Regions from separate parts of the Homo sapiens genome. Here region 1 is linked to region 2. The links are contacts of gene promoters, found by promoter capture Hi-C in human tissues and cell types (Jung and others, 2019). All regions are on one chromosome and are shown on one strand. Each heading gives the region's core, a stretch centred on a gene start or on the middle of the fragment in contact. The rest is flanking DNA. Distances are from core to core; before and after follow the strand shown. Region 1 overlaps TMEM143 (transmembrane protein 143). Region 2 holds the start of DBP (D-box binding PAR bZIP transcription factor).

The links. Contacts are between HindIII fragments. The study calls those that stand out against the background at their distance.
Region 1: a fragment that was not itself captured here is called in contact with the fragment with the promoter of DBP in region 2 in 1 of the 25 tissues and cell types used here (dorsolateral prefrontal cortex).

What each region holds. Positions count from the first base shown.
Region 1 is chr19:48,331,404-48,334,703 of GRCh38, forward strand. It overlaps TMEM143 (transmembrane protein 143), which reads right to left. Exons shown (of 8, transcript NM_018273.4): 7 at 2,605-2,794; 8 at 953-2,030. The coding sequence ends at 1,816. Among named protein-coding and RNA genes, the nearest start is that of EMP3, 7.5 kb to the left of the region's middle. RefSeq lists enhancers at 1,855-2,590, 1,981-2,070, 2,081-2,130 and a silencer at 2,471-2,990. The HindIII fragment of the contact is 4,580 bases long and covers 1-3,300 here.
Region 2 is chr19:48,635,821-48,639,103 of GRCh38, forward strand. It overlaps DBP (D-box binding PAR bZIP transcription factor), which reads right to left and starts at 1,559. Exons shown (of 4, transcript NM_001352.5): 1 at 1,036-1,559; 2 at 1-170. The coding sequence starts at 1,174. It overlaps CA11 (carbonic anhydrase 11), which reads right to left. Exons shown (of 9, transcript NM_001217.5): 8 at 3,068-3,233; 9 at 2,126-2,324. The coding sequence ends at 2,299. It also overlaps the pseudogene SEC1P. RefSeq lists silencers at 51-110, 1,147-1,266, 1,497-1,606, 1,777-1,996 and an enhancer at 2,607-2,776. The HindIII fragment of the contact is 3,626 bases long and covers 1-2,484 here.

The sequences.
Region 1 (3,300 bases), core at 95-2,594, 300 kb before region 2:
CATGTTGGCCAGGCTGGTCTTGAACTCCTGACCTCAGGTGATCCACCCACCTCAGCCTCCCAAAGTGCTGGGATTACAGGCGGGAGCCACCGCGCCCAGCCCAGTCTCCCTCTCTAGGGACTGAACATTTGGGGTCCTAGAGAGGGAGACTTCCCCTGTCTCCCCAAAGGCTGCCTCTAGCCCATATGACACGTTAGCAAAAATTAGGAGGCACCCCTTCTTCTGGCTGACCCAGCCCCACACCAGGATACATGTAGGGGTATGGGCTGGGTCTTACAGCCACCCACCCGTGGCTGTGTTCCTTTGTGCAGTTAACAATCTGCACAGGCCGGGTGCGGTGGCTCACGCCTGTAATCCCAGTACTTTGGGAGGCTGAGGCAGGTGGATCACCTGAGGTCAGGAGTTCGAGACCAGCCTGGCCAACATGGTGAAACCCCGTCTCTACTGAAAATACAAAAAATTAGCCAGGCGCGGTGGCAGGCGCCTCCCAGCTACTCGGGAGGCTGAGGCAGGAGAATCACTTGAACCCAGGAGGCGGAGGTTGCAGTGAGCCAAGATCATGCCATTGCATTCCAGCCTGGGCAACAAGCGCGAAACTCCATCTCAAGAACAAAAAAAAATCTGCAAATCTGCACAATCGCACATGGCTACGCTATCTCCTCTGTTCATCAGGCCCTGGGACTCCTCTGGAATCAGATCCTTCTAAGATCCTCTTCTATGACTGTCTTTGTTTCACCGACCATGAACCCAGCCTCTTTTTAGGACTACAGCTTTCTCTGTCTGGGACCCCAAGACCTAGCTAGAGTCCCTCCCCTCTTTCCAGGATTCAAATGCTTTCCTTCCCTCCAACTCCTGCAGCCATCCCACTCATCTAGATTTTTAAAAATAATTTTTTAACCACTCCTACAGAGCAGGGTTACCCTAAAGGCAGTGCGTTAAGAGTAGCCTCATCCAGACTTATTAAACATGATTTATTACTTTGGGACAGGAGACGGGAGAAATTGATAGACCAATAAATATTGCACAGGCTGCTGGTGGTGGGGAGATCCAGACCGAGGTAGTTTCTGTAGAAAGGGTGAAAGACCTGGGCGAGGAAGGCACCTGAGGTTGCCGGGAGCCAGGTTGGGAGCGAGTCTTGGTGGCGAGGGTGGTTTCTGGTTCACCTACCTAGCACAAGGTCTCCAACTCCTTCAGCCTAGACACCCTGATCAGCAGCTGACCAGTTGGCCTGCCATTTAAGCAGCAGCAATTGATAGCAAGATCAGGTTTCCTTTAGAAATTCTTATTGGTTCCTTCCCTGCAGCGACAACCGGCTGCCCAAAGTTGATGGAACCCAGCAGCTGTCACTGGACGTTTGCCAGGAGGCAGGGCTAACGGCCTTGGTGCACATGATGGGCAGTTTGCCCGGAGCGGGCTGAAAAAGACAATGATATATAGTCTCGGGAGGGCGCAGCTTTAACTCTTCTACCTGGCGGTTTACAGAAGCCAGAGCTGAGCAGCTGTGATTGGCAGACACCCTCAGCTCCTCAGCCAAACCACACTTGGATGTTTATGGTGAGGGTGGGACTAAGAAATGGAACAGAAGCAGAGCTAAATCGCTTTGATTGGCTGTTCATCGAAGGGGCGGGGAAGACTTAACAACTGCTAGCTGCTTTGATTGGCTGCTTTGCTTAAGCACACAGTGCAGCAAAAATAATCACCTGTCAGTTATTGGAAGTTGGAGTGAAAAGTATAATAACCGTAATTGACAGCCTGTCGTGAAGGAGGCGGGGCTTAGTTCCTAGCCTGCTGACTGGGCAGGGAGGTAGGTTCTACTCAGGAGATGTTACTGCTGGGCGTGGCTTGCGGGGGCTCGGAAGTGATCGGAGCCACTGGGTCTAGTTTGGGGAAACCCGGGGGTGGGTACAATCCCATGCTGGGGGTCAGGGCCTGCAGATGCGCCAGGGCCCGAGTTCCGTTGAAGGTCACCTCACAGCCTGACTTGGCTAGGAGCCAGTTCTCCACCTCCGACCGGAGCCACCTGGAGGTCTCTGCAAGGGGAGAGGCAGGTGTTCTGAGGTCACACTGAGATCGGGGAAGATTCGAGGGAGCAGCAAGGAGGGGCGTAGGGCAAAGAACAGGAAGGGCCTGGGTTTGGGAGAAGCCTAGGAGTGATCTTGAGGCTTGGAGGGGAGCGGAACAAGGCCCAGGAGGGTCGAGAGGGCCAGAAGGCCCAGCTCTGGGGCTTTCGTCTGGGGACCAGTCAGGGGCTCTTGGGCAGGGAAGGTGGGGGCTCCTGTAGGCAAGGGGACCACCTGGAGCCCACACAGGGAGCGCGCAGGATCTCTTGTAGGGAGAGTGTCAGCTCAGGTAGAGGAAAGAATGACAGGAGGGGGCCGTGCCATGGAGCCAAGACTCCCAACCAGGCTGAGGTTAAGAAAGGGCTGTCACATCAGGCACCAAGATCGGAGTCTGGATTCGGAGGTCCTGTCTGCTGAGGGCCGGGGTCTCTTCGCAAACCCGTCAGGTTCACCCGTGGGAACTGGGGGTGGGGACGCATCTCGCTGGGGCGGGGCCTCGCGGGGGTGTGGCCCCTGGGGGCAGGGTCCCAGGGCCACGTCCTACCTTCGGGCGAGCCTTGAGTGCCCCCTGGCCGCCGGGCCAGGAAGCTGTGAGCCAGCAGCGCCTCCTTGGTGTGCTCGTCCTGCGCGCGCAGGGCCAGGGCGCTGAGCAGCTCCGAGTTGTTGGACGTACTGCGATAGTACAGCATGTGCGCCAGCTCCAACGCCTGCGCGCTGCGCCGCTGCCCGAACATCTGCAGGCGGGACAGCGCCCCGTGGGCTCAGTTCGGGGTGCGCCCCCACCCATACACAGCCCCCGGGGTCACCCCCGCTGGCACGGCCCACGCCGCTTACTCCCCTGAGGAGGCGGGGAGGTCCTACCCAGACCTCTTCAGTACGGGTCCCCAGAGCTCAGTCGAGGGATCTATTTGGGGATTTTTGGGGTCTGTCTTTTCTTTTTCTTTCTTTTTCTCTCTTTCTTTCTTTCTTTCTTTCTTTCTTTCTTTCTTTCTTTCTTTCTTTCTTTCTTTCTTTCTTTTTCTTTCTTTCTTTCGTTCTTTCTTTCTTTTCTTTCTTTCTCTTTCTTTCTTTTCTTTTCTTTCTTTCTTTTTCTTCCTTCCTTCCTTTCTTTCTTTTCTTTCCTTTTTTTTTTTTTTTCGACAGGGTCTCGCCCTGTAGCCCAGTCTGGAGTTCAGTGGCTATTCACAGGCAAACTCATAACGCACTGAAGCTTTGAACTCCCGGGCTCAAGCGATCCTCC
Region 2 (3,283 bases), core at 309-2,808:
CAGTGGCGCCAACAGACCCGGGGCGGGCACCGGCCCCGGGCGCCCCCGCGGGGACCCTCCGCCCACCACTGCCCCAGCCGGGGCATCCGCCGGGCCCGCAGTCTCCAGGCCTGGCCCAGGGGTTGTGGCTGCAGGCAGGGCCGCCTTGCGCTCCTTTTCCTTCAGGAGACCTGCGGGCCGGGAAAGACGGGTTGGGATGAGGGTGAGGTGGGGGAGATAGAGATGGAGAAGAGACCCCGAGTCCGAGAGGCACAGGGCGGAGATCCAGAGAAAGAGGGGACGGGGGGTCGGAGAGGAGAGACGGGAGAAAAAGGGACGGAGACGCAGAGTGGGAGAGAGACCCAGAAAGAATGGAGACGGGGGTGGCAGAGACAGGTGGACAGATTCACAGAGATGGGGACAGAATGCCGGGAAGGAATAGACACACAGAAAGACAGCGAACCAGAGAAAGAGAGACGGAAGTTCAGGAATAGGGGGGCAGGGACAGGGTAGGTGGAGGGTTGGGCAGGTGAGAGAAAAAATGACAGCTCTGTAATTTCACTGTAATTACCCAACCCCCATCCCCTGCGCGCTGTACCCCCTTCCCCTCCCCCACCATCTGTAAGGGGCAGGAAGGGGCTCTATTCCTGGGGCACATCCCTCATCCCTAGACTCCATGTGACCCCATGACGCCCCGCCCAAGCCCGTGTCACCACCGTGTGAGCACCCGACACACCCCCTCCCTGGGACCCCAGGGGTCCAGACTCCCGGACCAAAAGGAAGAGGAGGCTGGGGCCTACACTCTTGTGAACTAAGCGGGGAGGACGTTGGGGACGTTGGTGCCTGGGTCCTTAGGGTGGACGGGCTTCAGAGCCGGCGCTTTTGGGTCCTGGGCGCTAAGGGATCTAGGGGCCTAAACACCTGAGTAATTGAGTAGATTAAGGTTGGGAAGATGGACTCCCCGCACGCAGGTTTCTATGGGACCCCACCCCACGGCACCTGAGTCCCTAAGGGGGTAGGGTGTCCGAAGTGGGTGAGATGGGGGTTAGAACTCACAGCTGGCCGGCTCTTTGGGCTTGCTGGTCCCCTGCAGAAGGCTCCGCAACCCAAGCAGCGCTCCCCCGCCAGGGGGTGTCCCGGCCGGGCCGCCCAGCAGCAGAGGGGCCGGGGTCCTGTCGCTCACAGGCCGCGCCATCGCCTGGCACCTGCCCCCAGGCTCACGGGTTCATGGAGAGGCGAAGGGCTGGCCTGCCAGTCACCAGCACACTCCAGTGGTTTGGACGAGTGTCTGCCCAGGGGCGGGCGAGTGTAGCCTGCAACCCTCCAGTATCCAGAACGCTGCAAATCCTAGGAGCGACGGGGATTTGAGGTCCTCGGTGCAGAAACGTGCAACTCAAGAGGGTCCCGGGAGATCATGCAATCTGGGCGAGGGGGTGTCCAGATCAAGCGGTCGGCTCTTTGCAACCGAGGGTGAGAGGGGACTCAAGGCGCTCCTTCTACAAGGTGGGCGAGCCTGGCTCTTGCAAAATCTGCAGCTCTCGCAACGGAAGGCGCTTTGCAATCTGCACCGAGAGGTGTGCGCGGAGGGGCGGAGGAGGGGGCAGGAGGAGGCGGCCGCCTTGAGGCGTGGCCAAAGCAAACTTCTTTCGCGGAAAAAAAAATCCAAACCAAAACACCCGACGCCACAGCGCGCGCCCCTCCTCCGGGTCCCCGCCCGGCGCGTCCAGCCCCGCCAGCCTCTATGGGCATGCAACCCAGCCGCGTGCCTCCCTCCGGCTGCAAACACGGACCAATCGTCTCCGACACCTTGAGACGCACAGCCAATGGGGCCTCTGGGTCCGCCAGGGCCCAGGAGGGCGCGTGAGGGGCTCAGCGCGTGAAGTTGCCTTGCCTTTCGGTGGGAGGCGGGACACTGACCTACATTTGCCCAATGGGAGGCGGTACTGGGGGGCGGGACCGTGACCCAGTTTGGGCCAATGAGGCAGGCGGGAGGGGGAAGCACATGGCTCTGCTCGTGCTGCCTGATGGCGAGGGGGGTGATGGGGGGAAAAGGGGCGCCGCTTAAAGGGGCCGCGGTCCTAAAGATGGTTTTGAGAAGCAGGAAGCCAAAATACCGAGAGCGGAGGTTTAGAAAGAGGAAGATTGGTTTCCGGAAGAAGTCTGTTCTTTAATACCCAAATGTTTCCCCACCGCGCCTAGAATCAGACCACTGAGAAAACAGGAAGTATTCTGTCCCTTTAATAGCTTTGTTTTAGGGGTAACTCCCCTCGCCTTGTGGGGAGGCTTAGGACGGGCGGGTGCAATCCTCGAAGGGGAGTCTCAGCGACCATGGGGGACACCATCCACTGTAAGACAGAGAACAACGGCAGGGGGCGTCAGTATAGGATGGAAGGGGCGGGGGGTGTGCAGGGGGCGTGGGCTGCGCCGCGCTGGGCCCTACCGTCGGAAGTCTGCGAGCGGGGAACCAGAATGTACTAGGTCGAGAAGCACTGGGCTGAACCACAAGAAGCCAATAGGAGGGGGGAATCGGGACGTCCAGATTCAGCAGTAGGCTGAACTACTTGAAGGTCTTCATGGGGGGGGGGGGGTGTGGACTGTACCATGTTGCGAAGCCGGGGGTGTGTGAGATTCCTGGGCTAAACCACAGGGAGGCAGAGGTGGAGGGAAGGGGTTGTACCTTGTAGATTCTCAGTAAGGGGGAAGGGAGCATCAGATTGTGGAACAGCGTAAGGTAGTACGACTTGGAAAGGGAGAGAGGATCCAAATTGTACCATTTTGGAAATTCACAGTAATAGGAAGCACAGAACAGTAGGTAATTGGACCATAGGAAGGCAGGGGTCAAGGGTTATAGACCAAGTTACAAAGCAGTGAAGAGGAAAGACAAATCGTGGGCTAGCAATGGCCTAGGGCTGGCAGGTGGACTGTACCACATAGACATGTAGGGAAAGAGAGAAAAAGAGACAGCTCACGAGGCTAGACCATATAGACGCAGGAAGGAGGATGGGACTGAATCACACTGAGACACCAAGGGGAGACACATATAAGAGGGTTAGCCCAAGACTTAGAGGGGGTGCAGACTGGACCATACCATGCAGGCGGTAGTTGGGGCCTCGGCAGCGCCTCTCGGGGTGCCGGGGGTCCCTGTTGCCCCTCAGTGCCCTGTGGGCCAAGGGCTGCAGGGGCCGGCTGTTACCGCTGAGGCTCTGGAAGATCTGAGATGGAGGATTCTGGCTCAGGAGTCTCAGGGAGTGCATCTGCAGTGGAAGGAGGGTGGGAAACTGGGAGTGAATAGTGAATGGTCTTG